Linked DNA regions of Homo sapiens: all the other regions are linked to region 6. The links are contacts of gene promoters, found by promoter capture Hi-C in blood cells and fetal thymus (Javierre and others, 2016). All regions are on one chromosome and are shown on one strand. Each heading gives the region's core, a stretch centred on a gene start or on the middle of the fragment in contact. The rest is flanking DNA. Distances are from core to core; before and after follow the strand shown. Region 1 overlaps ARL15 (ARF like GTPase 15). Region 2 overlaps ARL15 (ARF like GTPase 15). Region 3 overlaps ARL15 (ARF like GTPase 15). Region 4 holds the start of LINC01033 (long intergenic non-protein coding RNA 1033). Region 5 overlaps ARL15 (ARF like GTPase 15). Region 6 holds the start of NDUFS4 (NADH:ubiquinone oxidoreductase subunit S4). Region 7 overlaps ARL15 (ARF like GTPase 15).

Region 1 (2,700 bases), core at 96-2,595, 630 kb before region 6:
ATCATCTCTAGGAGGGTTGAATATGAAGGGACATTTCTTTTTTCCTTTACACATTTCTGATTGATCAACTTATTCATTACAGGTATTACTTTAGACATGAGAAAAAATAGAGAAAAATTAAGTGTGTGTCCTCATATGTGCTTATAAGTGGACTAGAGATAAAAGAAAAAAGGTCTCCTGAAATCAGAGGTTGGGCCAACTGTCAGATTAGTGGAAGGAGCAAATTATTTCCTTCTCTAGTTTGTGAAATGACTGTGGGGCCTTCAGTTGTTGTAGTAGCTATTTAAACCATCACCATGTTTTGTAACCTTTTAAAATTCTCCTGAGCTTTTTGCATGTTTCTTAATGAATAAAGGATAAATACAGTAAAGTCTGGGTTGATTTTTTTCTGTATTTTCATTGATGATGTCTGAATATAGGATCTATCTTGAGCCTTGCTGCCCAGGTATATATTGACCACAGGTGGCTTAATTTGGCTTGTACATAGTGAAGTACATAGTACATTAGCAACATTAACTAAGTATTTTGAGAGTACAGAATGTAGTGTAAGCCTTAAGTGGGGAGAAGTAGTTATGGACCTTGGGCCTTGAGAAATAAGAATGATATTGCCTGTTGGACAAAAGGAATGTAGATTTACTTTCTGAGTAAATAAACATCCTGAATGTCTCGAGATATCTCCTTGTGACTTCCATCTACTAGTAGAGGAGGACTGAGACACCCTACTCTTTGTGGCATACCTCACTACGCAGGCCTTTGGGATTTGAAGGAGCATGACTAGAAGTCCTCTTGGGAAGTTGGTAAAGCTAAAGGTAAAATTCTCCCTTGGTACAAGTTAGATCAAACATGGTTCATTTTGTGCCTGTGCTGTATCAGGTATCTGAAGTAGATTCTTTCCAAGCTTAACCTTTCAGACAGTTTTTAATCTATAAATATTAGTGTTTAAAAGTCAAAACCCTGTGAGGTCATTCTACCATTTCTGTTACCTCCCTCCTCTCCTCACGTTACCACAAAGCTATATGTTTCTTTTTTTGCCAGGTCTAAGATTTTTATTAGGGTGAGATTAGATTTTTCATATTAGGTGGCTGGAAAGTACAGCCAGCTGAAAACTATCAGCCATTTAGACTACATGCTTCATTTGAATTGTGTTTCTGGATGCAAGTCAAGTGTGACAACTGAGTTTCATAACTTTCTCTAGCTTGATTCAAAAATGTTTTAGGGCCAAAATACTTCTGAGGTCTTTTCTATCCTTTCTTGGTGAGGCCGTATGGAGGTTATTGGGGTTAAGACTATGTTGTGGGTCTCATAAAAATGATGGAGAGGTGAGGAGCCTTGCATATTAGGCTTGAATCATCTTTTATCCTTGCCTATGTTCTTCCAGGAATGACTTATCTCGTCTTGTTCAAAATGAACATCGCAGTGGGTCCATGCCTCTGATAATAATTGATGTCATGTATTTTGTTGGCTTTAAAAATGCTTAAGTTCTTTGATTGAAGTTATAGCTTTTAGACAATATAGAGCTAAATTATGAAGGGGAAACATGTTTTCAAAGAAGACTGGGTGGATAAGAAGGAACTAAAGAAAGTAATAGTCGGAATAATTCCAATGCATGGCGATTAGGATTTTAGTGTTCACTACCATAGTCTCCCAGGGGACACCCACATCCAACAGAACTTGTATGTTTTTATTTACAGTTATTAAATAACTGTATTTAATATCATCCATGCCCCCAATTATTTAATATCATCCTAGCCCCCAATTATTCAGTTTTTTAAAAAAATTCAACCAAGCTTTTTAAGGGAAAGCATTAATTTTATAAACCTAGATCTGAGCAATTTATAACAGAGCCATGTGAGCTATTTCAGGAAATCAACAAATATTTATTGAGCACCTATGATGTGCTAGGCAGAGTACATAAGTCGAAGTAGTTACAGTTCTGGAAAAAAAAAAAAAAATGAAGGCTTTATTGTAAAACAATAGGAATAGATTAGAGCACAGGTCCCCAAGCTTTTTGATGCCAGGGACCAGTTTTGTGGAAGACAGTTTTTCTATCGACTGGGGTGGAGGGGATGGATTCAGGGTGATGCTGTTCCACCTCACATCATCAGGCATTAGATTCTCATAAGCAACCTAGATCCTTCACATGTGCAGTTCACAGTAGGGTTCCCGCTTCTATGAGAATCTAATGCTGTAGCTGATCTGATAGGAAGCAGAGCTCAAGCCACAATGCTCCCTTGCTCACCTGCTGCTTACCTCCTGCTGTGAGGCCTGGTTCCGAACAGGCCATGGACCAGTACCGGTTCACTGCCTGGGGGTTGAGGACCCCTGGATTAGAGTATTACAGAAATATTTAAGAGGTGAAATCAATACAAGTAAGAGACTTGTATCAATTTTGGACATTGTGAGAGACACAGGATTGAGGATAAGCTTTGGATGATGGATTGGATGATGCTGCAATTTACTGAAATAGGAAATATAGAAAGAAGGAACAAGTTTCTTTTGTGGGTGGTAGGATTGATACTGAAATTGGATTTTTATTAGTTTGAGAGTACTTAAGGGAGATCTAGATAGAGATGTTTAACAGGAAGTTTAAAAACTCTAGTTTGGCTCTCCAGAGCAGGACGTTGAAGCAGATATGGGATTCAGAAGCCATCAAAATAGTAGAAGCCATGGGAATGGAAGGAATGTCCTACGTGAAACATG
Region 2 (2,700 bases), core at 178-2,677, 690 kb before region 6:
TGGAATATCATTTCTTGTGTTCAATAAGGAAAAATTCAGAGAATTTTAAATTAGTCTTTTTCATTTATTCATTAAACAGTTGTTTGACGTGGTCCTCTGCTTCACTGGTTGTCAACTTTGATTGACTATGGGAATCCCATGGGCAGCAAAAGGCCAATATCTAGGTCTTACCCCAGGGATTCTGATGTACTAATTGGTTTGTGGTGTGGCCTAGCATTGGGATTTTTTAATGTCCTCCAGGGTGATTCTATTGTGCAGACAAGGCTGAGAACCACTGCTCTAAAGCTGATTGTGTTCTTAATTGGGGACACTTCATGCTTACCTTATTACACTACAGGTGTTCTTAAACAGGACAGTGTGGTGGACACTGAAGAAGTTAAAATCTACTTGTTGGATCCTTATTCTTGGAGATTCTGAATCAGTAGGTCTGAGGTCTTTAGGAATAGCTCCTTAGGTGGCAGTTCTGATGACATCCCTTTATGAGACACAGATACAGAATAACCATTTAAATAAACTTTAGAAATCTAGTAAGGGTACAGATAAGATGCCAGTACAGTTTATCAGCAGCCTCCGTTTTCTGCCATCCCTAGGTGCTGCAGTGGAAATACCATATTACAAACTGTTGCTGTTGACTAATGCTAATATTCAATTACTTTTTAAAAAGCCTGGCTTTCCTTAATTTAATTCTGCTTGTGGAAAAACATACTCAACAAACAAGAGTGGGAAAATTAAATGAAAATACCTAGATGTTTGTCAAAAGCCTACAGACGTATCTCTTTCTTTGCACTAAAGTTCAAAGCATGCTTAAGAGTTGTTTGGCCACCTTAGAATTTTGCAGTGTGTGTTTTATCATAAAAAGTGTGAGCCAGTAATTAAAGCTTTACATCATTGTTTACTTATCTTCTTCCTTCTTACCTGAATTAGGGGAGGGGCTTTCAAGTGAATCACTTTCTAAGCCTCTGTGCAAATTAGCAGTGTTGTGTTTCCTTCAGCTTTTCCAAGCCATGCTTAATAATTAGGAAGATAGGCTGATTCAATTTAATATAGCATCTGATTGAAAGCATTTGAAGTTAGATTACTAAATATAGTAAAACTATATTTAGTTAAATAAAGTTAGCCTGTCACTGTTAGGAGGTGGACCTTGCTTTTTATAACTTCTTTCAGAGAGTGAATTGTGTTTCAGGTAGACTAAAATGGTGACCCTAGTGACCTTCACTGTGCCTACTTGTAAGTCTAGATCTCTCCAGAGCTGGGTTGTTCTGGGATCAGAAGATGTGGGATTTCCAGTTAGTTTCACAGCCAACATGGTTCTCCCTCCAGGCTGCCCCCAGGACCTGTGGACTCTGCTCCATCTTCAATGGCCCTTTGTCACCAGCTCTTGGTGTTTTTTTTGGTCCCGTCCCTACTACCCATGTCCCTGTACTTCTCCCTCTCTCCACCATCATGTCTCTCATCAAGACCACCAAAATCACAGACCTTCGTCTCTTAGCGACCTTCATTTCTACTCCTCAGAACTTACTGAACCTTGTTCTTCCCACTTCAGAGACTGCACAATCAGGTATTTTCTTCTCCAACTTTAACTAAACTTGCTTCTCATCATCATGCTGATTTTGAAAATCTGATCTCTTTCCTGTTCTCCAATTCTGTCAGCCTCACCCAAACCTGCTGCTTTTATTTCCCTGCTTAGCCAGAAGCCCTGTGATATGGTTTGGGTGTTTGTCCCCCCAAGTCTCATGTTGAAGTGTGGTTCCTCGTGTTGAAGGTGGGGCCTGGTAGGGGTGGTTGGATTGTGGGGGTGGATTTCTTATGGTTGATTTGATGCTGTCCTCTTGGTGCTGTCCTCATGATAGTGAGCTCTCAGGAAATCTGGTTGTTTAAAGGTGTGTGGTGCCTCCCTCGACCCCCACCTCTTGCTCCCACTCCTGCCATGTGACAGGCCTGCTCCCTGCTAGCCTTCTGCCATGATTGTAAGCTTCCTGAGACCTCACCAGAAACAGATGCCAGTGCCATGCTTCCTGTACAGCCTGCAGAACTGTGAGCCAATTAAACCTCTTTTCTTATAAATTACCCAAACTCAGATATTTCTTTATAGCAATGCAAAAATGGTCTGACACACCCTATGACCAGTCATTGAATATATTCTCCACAGGACCCTTGAGATGCAGTCCCAGGCACAGCCACTCTAACTCGGTTTTTCTCCTGGCAGGCTGCCAATTGCTGTGTGACAGAAACTGCTATAGCCCTGTTGGCTGGCTTTGATACTGATTAATTACTTACAAGCTCTCCTGGCTCCTCTGTCGTGCCTTAGGAATTCTGTGTATTCCTCAGACAACTAGGGATTGATTTCCTTCTTTTCTCCTACAGCTGTTAAAGTTTTTTTTTTTTTTTTTTTTGCTCTTAACCACAACCACACTTCTCCTTTCTTACTCTCAGATATGACCTCATGAACTCCTTCACTTAGAAACTAGAGATGGGAATTCTTGCACTTTTACTCTCCTTCAAGTGTTTCTGTATATTGTTACCTATCTCTCTCCTTCCTTATTCCCAAGGTTAATTGGTTACCTCTACTCTTCCCGTTCCCTTCTGAACTTTTTTCTCTGTTATCTTCACTTCCTCTTATATCTTCTTCTGTCTTTCCTTCTTCGTTGACTCAAGTATCTTCTATTCTGAAAAATACCTTCTCTGCTCTATTTCCCTGCC
Region 3 (2,700 bases), core at 89-2,588, 610 kb before region 6:
AGTACTACAGTCTGGGCTGTATATTGGGTGGCCAGGCCCTTGTCTAAGGAAGCTAACTGTCACTTAAGATACCTTGGAAAAATGAAAATCGCAATGAGCAGTTATTTACCTGTATGGCGCCTTTCTTAGTAGCATGATGTATTGCACCCAGGCCTCATAACATCCTCCTGAAGAAAGGAAGCGGCAGAGAGTGTTAAAATGTTACTGGTTAATCGTGGGGAAACTGAAGCATGGATAGGTTTATGAGGCTTGAACAGAGTTACACAATGCCTTAGTGTTTGGCCTGGGAATGAGGCCTGAGTTTGCCGCTTGCTGTCAGGACTGCCGACAGCATTGTGTTTCGCATTGTACAACAGTGAAAGGGGCTTACTCTTAACAATGCAAGAGCTGCTGTAGGAGACACACACAATGAACTTTGGTACAGTATAGTCTAGAGGCCAAAATGAGTAATTTTAAGTAAATTGACTATAGGATCCAAAGCTTCATTAAGTTTTAAAACAAAAAACAAATGAAAACTCTTTACAGTTTTTAGGAACTGACTCAGAAAACATGACCATTCCTTCCCCATTGGAAGTAGCATACTGTTGAAAGTTTTATCTTGTTGACTCAAAATCTGACACTATTCCTGTTACCCATAGGATGATTTATTCAGTCAGTTCAAATACATGTTGATTTCTAAGAGTCTGTGATTTATGTCAAAGATTTTGCCTTGTAATAACTATCAATCTAGCCATTAAGTTCCAAAGAACCTTATTTCCACAGCCTGTGGTTTTGTGGGGAGGCTTTTGTTTTATTCAGTTTTGGTTTGGGTTCTTATAGAACAGCTGGAACTATAGAGCCTGGACTTAGAGAAAGAGCTTGGGGAGACGGAGGGGGAGATGTCATGTTGGATGTCCTTATGACATTCGGTTATATGATTGAAACCATGGGACTGGAGATGATATCACTGGTGAGAATATAAAAAGGGAAGAGAGACCAGGCTCAGTGGCTCACGTGTGTAATCTCAGCACTTTGGGCAGCCGGGGTGAGTGGATCACCTGAGCTCAGGAGATGGAGACCAGCCTGAGCAACATGGTGAAACCCCATCTCTACAAAGATACAAAAATTAGCTGGGTGTGGTGGTGCACACTTGTAATCCCAGCTACTCGGGAGGCTGAGGTGGGAGGATTGCTTGAGCCTGGGATTTGGAGGTTGCAGTGAGTGGAGATTGCACCACTGCACTCCAGCCTGAGTGACAGAGACAGACTGTCTTAAAAAAAAAAAAAAGAGAGAAAAAGAAAGAGAAGAGAAGGCTGGGCATGGTGGCTCACACCTGTAATCCCAGCACTTTGGGAGGCTGAGGTGAGTGGATCACCTGAAGTCGAGAGTTCAAGACCAGCCTGGCCAACATGGTGAAACCCCGTCTCTACTAAAAATACAAAAATTAGCTGGGTGTGGTGGCGCATACCTGTAATCCCAGCTACTCAGGAAGCCGAGGCACGAGAATCACTTGAACCCGGGAGGTGGAGGTTGCTGTGAGCCGAGATTGTGCCATTGCACTCCAGCCCGGGCAACAAGAGTGAAACTCTGTCTGAAAAAAAAAAAAGAAAGAAAGAAAGAAGAGAAAAGACAGTGGAGTAGAATATCACTGCTATCATTGCAAAATCATCTTTTATGTCAGAAGTGGCTTAGGTGACCTAGAATAAACAGGTAAAATAGATATTAATGGAGTTGGCTACAAAGTTTTTCTACTCTGGATTTTAAAAAGAACATGAAGATGAAATTCTGGAGTGTTTGGCAAAAATATGAGTGATAACGACATGAATAATTTAAACCGGATGCTCTAGCAATCATTCACATACAGTTTCATTTGATATTTAAGGTTTATGATAGTTTGGGCCAGGGTAGTCAGGCCAGCCCTCCTCCAGGAGATAGTCCAGAGGAATTCTGGCAAGGAGCTGAGTGAGAATGAAGGCCTCTAGGGCAGGAATGGGATCTCTCCTCCTTGAACCCCAAACAAGACCAACGCAGCCCAGTAAAAGAAACTGTGTGACTAGTTTTGTTGTCTGTCCTAATTGAATGTGGAAGACCACTTCTAAGTCTGAACAGCTGCTAGCCATGGCCATCTTTGAGGGAACAGACACATACACAAATAAACCTATCTCTGAGAAAAACTCTCATTCTGAGTCTGGGAGACAGACTTTATAAAAAAGCTTGTTAAAGTCAGACAGTATCAGCCAGCCTTCATATGAATCCATGAAGTGATGTGTTGGCGTTTAGAATGCTGTTAGTAGTTATGGTCATTAATCTTGTGGGAGAGGGTGTGCTGGAACTAAAGGAAGATCAGAGAAGAACATCTCATAGGATGAAGACAGACTGAAATAAGTAGGACTCCTCAGGCTTGAAAAGACTGAGAGGAAATACAATTAGCATGAATAAACCCATGAAGAATATGGGTCATAGAATTGTTTACCAGAAGCAGGCAGAACCTCTTGAGAACAGAGGAAAAGTGAATTTAGGACAAAAAGAAGCTCTAATTTACCAAGAAAGTTGATCCTGTACACCAAAACCACTCTTTTGGGAACTAGGCTAACTAATGGCATTGAAGCGAAGTGAAAAAGTCAGCGGTTTCTTATTTTGACAGTATTTTCTTGAAGCGTGGAGGGCTCAGAGAACATAGATCAAGCATCCTGTTAGTCTCTATGTTTTCTTTTTTCTTTG
Region 4 (2,700 bases), core at 188-2,687, 760 kb before region 6:
TATAGATATTTCTGCTACCAAAGAGAAGTGCAGAGATTCTCCATTTATGTGCACTGCCATCTGTCACATGGAGACATAGTGTTGTGTCCACTACGTAACATACAACTAAAGCTTGTACATTACAATGCTACCATACAACCATCCTGGAGGGCAGGCATGGTTTATATCAATGGAAGTGGGCAAATGAACCAAGCAGCCTGTTGAAACGTTTGAGAAATTTAATGATTGATCACTCACTTTAGTTGCAGCAGAGGGTCTCCTACGGATGCATCTTATGGCTTCCATATAGGTAATACAAAATATAGAGCTTAGTGGCACACAAAGCCAGCTTACTATTCCTGGATTGCCCATCTTACCATTTCTTCTGATTCTGAGTTATGCTGCAGAGAAGAATCAACAAAGCCATCATCTCTCTGCTGCCCTTTAATTTTCCCTTTTGCTTACTTTGCTTTATTTCATCAACATTTTAAAGATGATACTGTAACTCCAAAGTGGAATAATTTTCCTGAGATCCTTAAAAGTCAATGGTGGAAGCAGGATTCTTCTACTTCTCCAGACTAAGTCAAAGGCACTGTCTATAAAAACACAATTCCTCCAACAAGGCTTTCAGTACATAGGATAGCCAGCACTTCAGTGTTCAGTATATTTGTTTTTGTTTTATTATTTTTTAAAAAGTATTTTATTTATTTATTTTTTTTAAGATGGAGTCTCGCTCTGTCACCCAGGCTGGAGTGCAGTGGTGCAATCTTGGTTCACTGCAACCTCTGCCTCCCAGGTTCAAGCGATTCTCCTGCCTCAGCTTTCCAAGTAACTGGGATTACAAGTGAGCCACCATGCCCAGCTAATTTTGCATTTTTAGTACAGATGGAGTTTCACCATGTTGGCCAGGCTGGTCTTGAACTCCTGACCTCAAGTGATCCACCCACCTCGGCCTCCCAGAGTGTTGGGATTACAGGCATGAGCCACCTCACCAGGCCATATTTGTTTTTAATCCTTACAACAACCTTGAAGAAATTACCTATATTGTTTTTAATTTCCATTTTAAAGATGAGATAACTGAGTTTCAGAGGTTAAGTATCCTTCTTAAGGTCACACAGCTAATAAAGCACCTGGGATTGAAATTTAGCTCTGTCTTCTGACAAAGCTTGATCTTAACCCTTGAGCTAACTGGATCAGAATTATATGAAATAGCTGTGCCACCGCATGTGATTATGGTGTGGTAAGTTAGCCATTACTCTTTAGACCATTTGAAATCTCATGAAGTCACATGCCTTGGTCCATTGCTTCTTTCATTTCCTATTAAGAAAACTAGCCAAACCTCTTAGTCTGTAACATTATGATGCCCTTTGTAATGCCAAAATGATTTCTACCAATTCCAAATTGCTTCTGTTCTCTGAACTATTACCTTGGAGGCAGCCTGAGAAGTAGGAAGATATGGTATAATATCTAGCATGCTGTTCTTCCTTGATGTCTTCCAGCAGGTCTAATAGTACCACAGGCACACCATCAGTCAGCCATAACGTGTACCAGAACATACACACACACAAAGGGAATAAAGAGAGGCCTTGGTGGAATAAGCACGTCCAGAACACGTCCATTCACTGATGTACTTTGGCAGCAAGCATACAGTACTGTCTTCTCTAGCTCTCATTTGCCCAGAGAATTCAACACTACTCAGGTACATAAAAAACCACAATTATGTTAGAGATTCCTATTTGAAGAAAAGCTTCTCAAGGACAAAGCATTACAATGAATCAGTCTACATGGCATGGCATTAAACACAAGATGCAGGCAAAGACTTCAAGGTCATGGCAAGGAGACAGGGAAAGCATTGGAAAAGCTTGGCTCTCATGAATGTGTTAGTGTCTTTCATGAACCCATTAGTTAATTAATTATTAAGATAATAGTTAATTCTTATGCAATTTTTTTTTTCTTAAATGCCCTCTTTTCTTTCTAAGAAGAGTAACGTCAGGTTTAAGCAATTGATTTAAAAGTAAACTGTCTCTGGGCCAGGCACGGTGGCTCATGCCTATAATCCCAGCACTTTGGGAAGCAGAGGCAGGAAGATCGCTTGAGGCCAGGAGTTTGAGACTAGCCTAGGCAACATAGTGAGATCCTGTATTAACAAAAAATTTAAACATTATGTGGTCCCAGCTACTTACAAGGCTGATGTGGGAGGCCCAGGAGATCGAGACTATAGTGAGCTGTGATCACACCACTGCATTCCAGCCTGGGTGAAGTGAGACCCTGTGTCAAAAAATAAAAAAATGAAATTAATTAATTAATTAATTAAACTGCTTCTGGAGTATTAAACTTTAAAATAATTTATTTTGAAAGCAAAATTAAATCACAAGGATTTCCTCCTTTGTTTCATTATAGGCTTTGCAGACTAGTACTGAATGGAAAGGCACATTTGAAGGAATGAGCAGAAAAGGAGAACAGTAGTATGCCACGATTAATGCATTCAGGAAGGAACACAGTTACTGGTGTGGGTGCGCACAGACTCCTCCAGTCTCCTGCCAAAGAGAACCCTGAACTTAGAAACTCAATGCTTTGCCTTTTGCTTCCAAAAATTATTTCTTGCAGTATTGACAATGAAGCCAATATACATAAAAGGAATTGTGGTCAGGTTAGAGAGAAAAGAAAAAAACAGACTGATGTGTTCCGTATTGTCACAGAATAAACAGATCAATAAAACAG
Region 5 (2,700 bases), core at 185-2,684, 650 kb before region 6:
TTTTTCCAGTTGGAGAAACAGAGGCATGGGTAGGTTAAGTGTTTTGGCTAAGGTCATAAAACTGGGCTGGCAGGACTGCTATTCAGATTTCTCACTCTGCATCTCCCCCCCATTAAATCACTACTTTTAGGTAGCTAACAGTAGATTCACTCTTATTTGTTCCCCACCCCTACCACCAAACATGCTTAATCTTTCTCAATCTCCATTTGACTAATTAGTTCACAGCTAAGAAAGCATATTTTCTTTGAGCAGATTATGCCAATAGAGAAAACAGAAAAAATAGTCCAACAGGACAAACACTGTTCATTGTACACCCAATAGCCATTTATCCTTCTTGCTAAAATACCCTGGTCTGAGGCAGCAATGTGTCTAGCCCCAGGCAATGAATGAACCATGATTGGTCTAAGCCACTTAGACTCCTGTGTTCCCTGTTTTCTCAGCTTCTCTTACAACTAGATGTGGCTGTGTTGCTCGGTTCTGACTAGTGATCTTATGGGGGAGGGGGTCTGCTTGAGGTTCTGTGGGGAAAGTTTTTGCTTTCCTGTGAAAAGGGACAGATGTGGCCTTTTCCCTTTTCTACCTTCCTTTTCCCTTTTCCTCTTCTTAAACAGAAATGTGACATCTGGAGCTGATGTGCCCTTCTTACTACCTTACAAAAAAGGCCAGCTTCTTTTTAATTAAGTCTCATTTGTTTAAACCAGGGATTGACATTTTGGTTAAACCATTGGTTGGCAAATTATGACCCATTGGCTGATTGCCTATTTTTGTAAGTAAAGTGTTACTGAAACACAGCCACGTATTGACTGTGGCTGCCTTCATGCTATGACAGAGTTGAGTAATTGTGACGGAGACTATATGGCCTGCAGGTCTTAAATATTTACTCTCTGGCCCTTTAGGTTTGGTGATGCCGTTTAAAGCACCTAACATGAATTTTCTGTTACTTGTAGCCAGACACATTCCTAATGGAATCAACCAATAACCAAGATCCTTAAACAAATTAGTGACTTGGCATTTCTTCCTACTCAAATTACTCTTTTCTGGTTAAGTAGGTGTGCTCCAGATAAGCATATTCCTCATTTTGGACTTTATCTACTCCTCTTTATTTCCTTCCTGAACTCTCTGATTATCATATTCTTTTTAAAAGTAAGATAAGAGTATAAAAGTATTTCATTTGGCCGGTCACGGTGGCTCGTGCCTGTAATCCCAGCACTTTGGGAGACTGAGGCGGTCGGATCACCTGAGGTCAGGAGTTCAAGACCAGCCTGCCCAACATGGCAAAACCCTGTCTCTACTAAAAATACAAAAAATTAGCCAGGTATGGTGGCGGGCACCTGTATTCCCAGCTACTCGCGAGGCTGAGGCAGGAGAATCGCTTGAACCTGGGAGGCAGAGGTTGCCGTGAGCTGAGATTGCACCACTGCACTCCAGCCTGGGTGACAAAAGTGAAACTCTGTCTCAAAAAAAAAAAAAAAAAAAAGTGTTTCATTTAAGCGCTGCCTAAAACTAATGTCAGCTCTTTGATATTCCAATCTTTTAACTGCCCAAGGAATTATTTTCTAATGCTCAGATAAAATTGTCAGGGCTTTCACTCGGTGAGTAGGGTCTATTCATGGATCTTAAAACCTGAACCGATAGAACAGCTCTACAGCTCCTTGTATTCTGCTCCCAACCTTCCTGTCCCCTCCAAACTTGTTGCCCTTTGTGGTCTGGTGGAAGCAGGAGAAAACCCTGCAATAGCCCCCACTCTGTGACATTTTGGAATACTTTGTGCATACCAAACAAACCACTAACTTGATTTGGGAAGATAAACTGAAAATACATTTCTAGTTCAGTAATAGCTATAATTGGACAGTCTGTCTTTTGAACAATAAAAATAATCCTAGTTTCGTTTTGTGTAAAGATATAACATCTTATGTGTGACTGCAAAAATAAGCAAAAACTACTTATTAAAATATGTGTATTTTCATTTTGTTTGCTGACAGTGTCAGGTAGTAATTGTGCTGGTTTTGCAGACTCTGTAATGTGTTATTGCAGAAAAAGCACTAGATTGGGTTCTATGAGACTGAATTAACCATGAGTTGTTTGTCAACTGAATTAACTTCTCTGTGCCACAGTTTTGCATCTCAAGGAAAAGAGATTGAACTATGTGGCATATAAGGTCTCTTTCAATTCTAATATATTTGTATTTGTAAATATTCTTCAGGGTGGCTAGAACCTACTTGAGGATTAGTCAATTCAAATAATAGCAACAGCAGCAACAACTGCAACAAAACTTCCTTTGGAAAATCAACATACTTTAGTCAGAATGGCCCTTTAATTTTTAAGGCCCAGATGCCTCAAAGGATTTGTCATGTACAGTTATCATTTGTTGTCAGAGGACTATTCTGGGGGATAGAATGTTATGGGTGAATTTGGGTTCTGTGATGGCCATTTGCAATGCTTTAGCTTGATAATCAAATATAATATATTTCACAATACATTTATCATTTTGTTGAAATAACGTAATGAGTGAAGCCATTGTCTTGAAGTACAAGTTTCCAAGAGAATATTCGGAGCAAATTGGCTGGAAAGTGAGTGGATTATAGTAAAATAAAATAGATAATAGGCATTATTTTTAATAAAATGTTCTTGCCTTGCTTAAGAAATATAGTTCATGAAAAAGAAAATTATAATTTGATTGGGAGGATTTTATGGTAATGA
Region 6 (2,700 bases), core at 7-2,506:
AATCGTTTAACTAATGCTTTCAAGCCTTTTCATAAGCCACGGACCCTACGGGACACTCTCTTCTTTCCCACCCAACACCCACTATATTTAAACCTTAATAAAACTCATCCTTAAAAATTCTTCCGAATTAACTCATCCTAATTCTCTGCATTCCATTTATATTTAACACTAAATCAATTAGCATTCTACTAGACCTTCCTTTCAACTTTTAACCACTTGCATCCACCTCCTACCCCCTTCAAATCTCTCCATCCAGTCTTTCCAATCTTTGTTCTAATATGTGTGTGTATGTACGTATAGCATTAGTACTATAATTTAAAAAACTCCAGGAAATTCTGAAAAATAGAAAATGGAAGGTTAATACAGCCAAAAAAAAAAAAATCATCACAAAAATGCTTCAAGGAAAAACAGTAACAACTCAATCAACTGACAACTGAATCTGACAATACTTTGGAAAAGTACTACTTTAGGTTCTCAAGGACGCAAAGAGCCCTCAACAACTCAATTCAATCCCTGAATTATTGTGAGGCTTTAACAAAATCCCTAGAAAACCTCCAGGCATTACCACCAGCCTTTTAAAAATTACCTTCCAATATTACTAGCAGTGATATTTTTACTAACACTGAATTCCAAACAAGTTTTCCTCCCAAGCAGACTGATGAATAAACAATCTTCCTATGCAGAAACCAAATTAAAACCACTTAAAACCATGGAAGGGATACAGTGATTTAACCCTTCTGTAAGGACTGGAGTGGTGGGCAAACAGGTGACAAATGGAAGGGATGCAGAAAGTGGAAACAGAAATCAGTGAGACTCCTCCCCTTCTCTGAGGGCTAAGGTTCAGCTTGCAGCTCCGGAGGCAAAACCTCCACGGACCCTCTCCCTCAGCGACAAGCCGAATACGAAAGCTTCCAGAAAACCACAGGTCCTCCTCCCCGGCCTCGCACTCACGCCCTCACTCGCCTGGCCAACGCCCATTGATAGCAGACAGTCCCTAGTCCGCCCGACTTCTCCCGAGAAAAGGGTCAACAGAGGACGCCTTCCCCGAGGCCTCCTCCGGAACTCAGCCAGCAGAGACTCCGCAAAAATGGAGGGACCCAAGAAGCTTGAAGAAAAGTGTGAAAATTCTATTACCTGGTCGGAACCCTGGAAACGGAAAGGGCAGCTACAGCCACTGCCCTTCTCCGCCACAACGTCTGCCTCAGTACCACTGACATTGACACCGCCGCCATCTTGCTGCAGGCAAACGCCAGGATGAAAGGACGGATCACCGCAAGGGACTAACTTCCTTCGTTCTCAAGCCAGTGCAATCGCAATGTTGCGAAATTCTTTGGGATTTTATTTTCTTTTTAATACTGGGGCTTAAAAAAAGAGGGGAAACGCTTAGTTTAAATAAGTAAGAAGAAAAATGTGCGGGAAGAAATGCAGAAGTGCATTAACTGTAAATATTACCACCATAAAGTGTAATCTTTACTGCTTGTTAGGACTGGTGTTTTACAATGATAACGAAAAGACCAAAATATACTTGCATATTTAAACACCTGCAACTCGTAATTTATTGAAGAAATTAGGATATTTGGGGCTGAACCCACTGGAAAAGCTGGAGAGCTCTTTGGGTCCTTGAGAACCTGCAGTAGTACTTTTCCAAAGTATTGCCAGATTCACTTTGCAAGCCCTCAGGACAGGGCTGTATTCAGTTTGATATTCTGTAGTAGTAATGTTCGTATTTTCCAAACGAAAAATCTGGATACGTGATCTGGCAAAGGATTATTTTTTGACATGTAGATTTATATGAAGAATCAATAGAACATAATATTTGATGTCACTGTTTCCCCAGTAAATCCTGAATGTGTGTGTGTTCATAATCCATAGACATGAAGAATGATATTAATGCTCCATGCATATAAAACAAAAATTATCTTCCAATACAAGTGTTGGAAACATGTTTGTATTGTGGACTTCCGACCTTAAAGAATAATGACTAACTGAATTATATAAAATAAAAAGCAGGTTAGTTTTGGGTTTTGTTTTTTAAGAAATTTGTTTAAAGAGTTAGTACTTTCCTGCTTTTAAAATTAAGCACATGAAAACATAACCTTCATTAAATAAATAGGAACAATAGGAGGATGGGGAATGACATAGTTTGGCATTATGGACCGTTAAAGGAAAACCCAGTACATAAGGGAAAGGGAGAAAGAAAGAGAAAAAGTCATACTCAGGGAAAGAAATGCACAAGATGAAGGAAGGCAAGGGAGAGATGCCTCAGAGAAAATTTTCTTTCAAACTTTTCATTTTGAAATAGTTATAGATTCACATGAAGTTGCAAAGATAGTACAGATGTCTTGTGTACCTGTTTCCCCCAGTGATTACATCTCGTATAACTCTAGTACAGTATCAAAGCCAGGAAACTGGCATTGATATAAAGTATTTGTGTAGTCCTATGTCATTCTACTACATATTTTGTGTAACCACCACCATGATCAAGATACAGAACTATTCCACCCTCACAAAGATCTCCCTAGTGCTAACCTTTTTGGTAACACCTGCCCTCCTAACCCTAGTGATCTCTGTTTCTGTTTTTATAATTTTGACATTTTGAGATGTTATATGAATGGACTCATGCAGTACATGACCTTCTAAGATTGGCTTCTTTCACTTGGCATAATGCACTTGAGACCCATCCAAGTTGTTGTGTTTATC
Region 7 (2,700 bases), core at 94-2,593, 670 kb before region 6:
TCTTATGTCATCCTAGAGAAAGATGCATAGAATTAAATCCTTTTAACATTAACATACAGAGTTAAAAGTATACCCCAAGCATTGGTTCTTATCCTTCAAAGGTCCTTTTTCAGATTTTGTGAAGGCCATTGGAATGCCCAGGTTGTAAGTTGAGTGTAGTTTTAATATTTGGAAATTGAACTAATAATAATCCCAACTTTATCCATGTTAATGCTTCTATGTATTTAAAGTTATAAGTAGTTAATAAGACATAATTTGAACAGATTATTTTGGATAGCCGATGTATAATCAATTCATAGGAATTTAAGAAAGAAGTTTTTTGTGTGTGACCTCAGGTTTACTTTTGCATTTAGTTATGAACTACATTCAAACTAGATTTGGTTTCACATTTTCTTAGCTCTTTTAAAAACATATTATCAAAAAATTAAAATTAATTTCCCTATGCTCATATATTATTATTTTATAATCTGAATTTTCTGGGACGGAGTTGTAATTCTTCTGACAATCCAATAAATTTATTTTGTGTTCTGTGAGCTTACAAGTCCACTAGAGGGTGCATTTTACTCTTTTTTGACACAGACAGAAATTTAAGTCCATAATTTTGTTTCACTTTCACAGAGCTAGTTGGGTTAACAGCTTTGGAAAGCAAAGTCCCTTAAATTCTTAAACATGGACACTAGGAGACTGTTGTACAAAAACATAATTCATTAGTATAAAGCAACCATATCATTATTAAAATAGTGGCCTTACCAGTGGATGCTATTGTAGGATGCAGAAGGGAGCACGGTGGGGTGGGGATGTCTAGGGAAGCTTCATGGGCAAGATGGGATCTGTAGTGTTCAAACACCTGGTGAAGTCAAACTTTTTGGTCTCAGGACCCCTTTACACCATTGATAATTATTAAGGCTCCCAAATAGCTTTTATTAATGTGGGTATTGATATTTAATGTTCTAGCAATTAAAATTTTTTTTTTTTTTACTAATGCATTTAAAAATAACAATAGTAACGGGCCAGGCCTGGTGGCTCAAGCCTGTAATCCCAGCACTTTGGGAGGCTGAAACGGGCGGATCACCTGATGCCAGGAGTTCGAGACCTGGCCAACATGGAGAAACCCCATCTCTACAAAAATAAAAAAATTAGCCGGGCTTGGTGGCACGCGCCTATAATCCCAGCTACTTGGGAAGCTGAGGCAGGACAATTGCTTGAATCAGGGAAGCAGAGGTTGCAGTGAGCTGAGATCTTGCCGTTGTACCAGCCTGGCAACAGAGCGAGACTGTCTCAAAAAATAAATAAAAATAAACCCATTACATGTTAATATGAATAACATTTAAATGAAAAAGAACTATATTTTCCAAAACAAAAATTAGTGAGAAAATGGCATTGTTTTACCTCTTTGCAGATCTTTTTAATGTCTGGGTTAATAGAGGGCAGCTAGAGTCTCATATTTGCCTCTGCATTTAATCTGTTGTGTGTTTTGGTTAAAGTATGTGAAGAAAATTCAACCCCACGCAGCTATGAAGTTGGAAAAGAATATTTTAATAGCCTTTTCTGATAATTGTGAGTAGTCTTCTGTGATTCTATATCTAAACAATCAAATGGTAGTTCCTTAGGGGCTAGTTGCCATGTGGAACCTGAAACCATATCAGTGAACTTATTCTAGTTAGTTATGTTAAAAGCCAGTAGTCTCTCTTGGACCTTGAAAGACTCTTTTGCTCAGGCATGACTTTGTAATATTACACATTGGTCTTGGAAAATATTGGTTCATCTAGTTATGTAAATCTTCCAAATGTTAACACAATATCAGTCTTGTAAATATGTCAAGTTCATGATGGCAGATACAAGTTTTCTAAGAATTTAATTTTCATTTGAAAGCTTGAATTTTATCACTGGCAACAAATACTAACAGTTGTTTTCCTTGAATTGACATGCCCACTTCATTTATTTTTAAGAAAATATCTGTGAAATACCCAAGTTCGAATAATTATAGTTTGCCTGTAAGTCATTTTTTCAAGTAAAAATGGTGTTCCATGAAAAGAGAAGTTAGTTAGGTTCACGAGTACTTTTCCTTGAGACAACCCTTAGACTTTTACATAGAGCAGAAATGTTTTGTATGTATTTCATCACACAGAATAGTAACGTGTCAAGATTTAATAAAATTGATAGTTTACTGCTTCATCAAGGCCATTTTTATGTAAAACACAATGGCAGCTGGTAGAGTTTGGTGCCACCAGCATGATTTGTGCTAAAGGGCCAGCAGTTTCACTCACTCACTCTCTCCATCAATGTTAATGCAAACACAATGCAAGAGGTAAATAATGTCTTAGTATGATGACATTAGTTTTGATCCTGCAGATCCTCTGAAAGGGTCTTGGGGACCCTCAGGAGTCCATGCACACATTGAAAACGGCTGGACTAGGAGAAGCATAGAACTGGGTGTTGTGAAGCCATTGCAAACAAGGATGGTGTATGAGGGCAGGGGTGAACATGAGTGTCAGCCGAACAAGGGGCTGAGGGTAGACTCCAATTGATGGCTCTTGTGGGAATAGAGGAAATCAGAGGAGAAAAGAATGTGTCTTGAAGGCAGAGCAGACCGGAGAGGTCCCTGAACACAAGTTCTGAGAAGCAATTTTGTGGCTTTCCTGGTAGGTGGGCATGCGTCTTTAATTAAGCACCCCTGCCCTTCCCACTCTGCCCTGTTTC

Evidence for each region. Contacts are between HindIII fragments. The CHiCAGO score rates a contact against its expected background, and 5 or more counts as called.
Region 1: a contact is called between a fragment that was not itself captured here and the fragment with the promoter of NDUFS4 in region 6, in 5 of 17 cell types (endothelial precursors, M2 macrophages, naive B cells and 2 more). The highest score is 7.9, in endothelial precursors.
Region 2: a fragment that was not itself captured here is called in contact with the fragment with the promoter of NDUFS4 in region 6 in 1 of 17 cell types (erythroblasts); the score reaches 5.1 in erythroblasts.
Region 3: a fragment that was not itself captured here is called in contact with the fragment with the promoter of NDUFS4 in region 6 in 2 of 17 cell types (endothelial precursors and total CD4 T cells); the score reaches 5.7 in endothelial precursors.
Region 4: a fragment that was not itself captured here is called in contact with the fragment with the promoter of NDUFS4 in region 6 in 1 of 17 cell types (erythroblasts); the score reaches 6.8 in erythroblasts.
Region 5: a fragment that was not itself captured here is called in contact with the fragment with the promoter of NDUFS4 in region 6 in 8 of 17 cell types (erythroblasts, M2 macrophages, M0 macrophages and 5 more); the score reaches 11.8 in erythroblasts.
Region 7: a fragment that was not itself captured here is called in contact with the fragment with the promoter of NDUFS4 in region 6 in 7 of 17 cell types (megakaryocytes, endothelial precursors, naive B cells and 4 more); the score reaches 9.2 in megakaryocytes.

What each region holds. Positions count from the first base shown.
Region 1 is chr5:54,192,978-54,195,677 of GRCh38, reverse strand. The region is part of intron 1 of ARL15 (ARF like GTPase 15); the gene reads left to right. Among named protein-coding and RNA genes, the nearest start is that of ARL15, 120 kb to the left of the region's middle. The HindIII fragment of the contact is 889 bases long and covers 901-1,789 here.
Region 2 is chr5:54,249,366-54,252,065 of GRCh38, reverse strand. The region is part of intron 1 of ARL15 (ARF like GTPase 15); the gene reads left to right. Among named protein-coding and RNA genes, the nearest start is that of ARL15, 60 kb to the left of the region's middle. The HindIII fragment of the contact is 1,094 bases long and covers 881-1,974 here.
Region 3 is chr5:54,174,225-54,176,924 of GRCh38, reverse strand. The region is part of intron 1 of ARL15 (ARF like GTPase 15); the gene reads left to right. Among named protein-coding and RNA genes, the nearest start is that of ARL15, 130 kb to the left of the region's middle. The HindIII fragment of the contact is 1,712 bases long and covers 483-2,194 here.
Region 4 is chr5:54,320,461-54,323,160 of GRCh38, reverse strand. LINC01033 (long intergenic non-protein coding RNA 1033) reads right to left here and starts at 2,217. Exons shown (of 5, transcript NR_126379.1): 1 at 2,163-2,217. The HindIII fragment of the contact is 582 bases long and covers 1,147-1,728 here.
Region 5 is chr5:54,210,245-54,212,944 of GRCh38, reverse strand. The region is part of intron 1 of ARL15 (ARF like GTPase 15); the gene reads left to right. Among named protein-coding and RNA genes, the nearest start is that of ARL15, 99 kb to the left of the region's middle. The HindIII fragment of the contact is 5,856 bases long and covers 1-2,700 here.
Region 6 is chr5:53,559,195-53,561,894 of GRCh38, reverse strand. It overlaps NDUFS4 (NADH:ubiquinone oxidoreductase subunit S4), which reads right to left and starts at 1,256. Exons shown (of 5, transcript NM_002495.4): 1 at 1,135-1,256. The coding sequence starts at 1,232. RefSeq lists an enhancer at 855-1,354. The HindIII fragment of the contact is 3,063 bases long and covers 1,108-2,700 here.
Region 7 is chr5:54,232,599-54,235,298 of GRCh38, reverse strand. All of the region lies in intron 1 of ARL15 (ARF like GTPase 15), which reads left to right. Among named protein-coding and RNA genes, the nearest start is that of ARL15, 77 kb to the left of the region's middle. The HindIII fragment of the contact is 1,062 bases long and covers 813-1,874 here.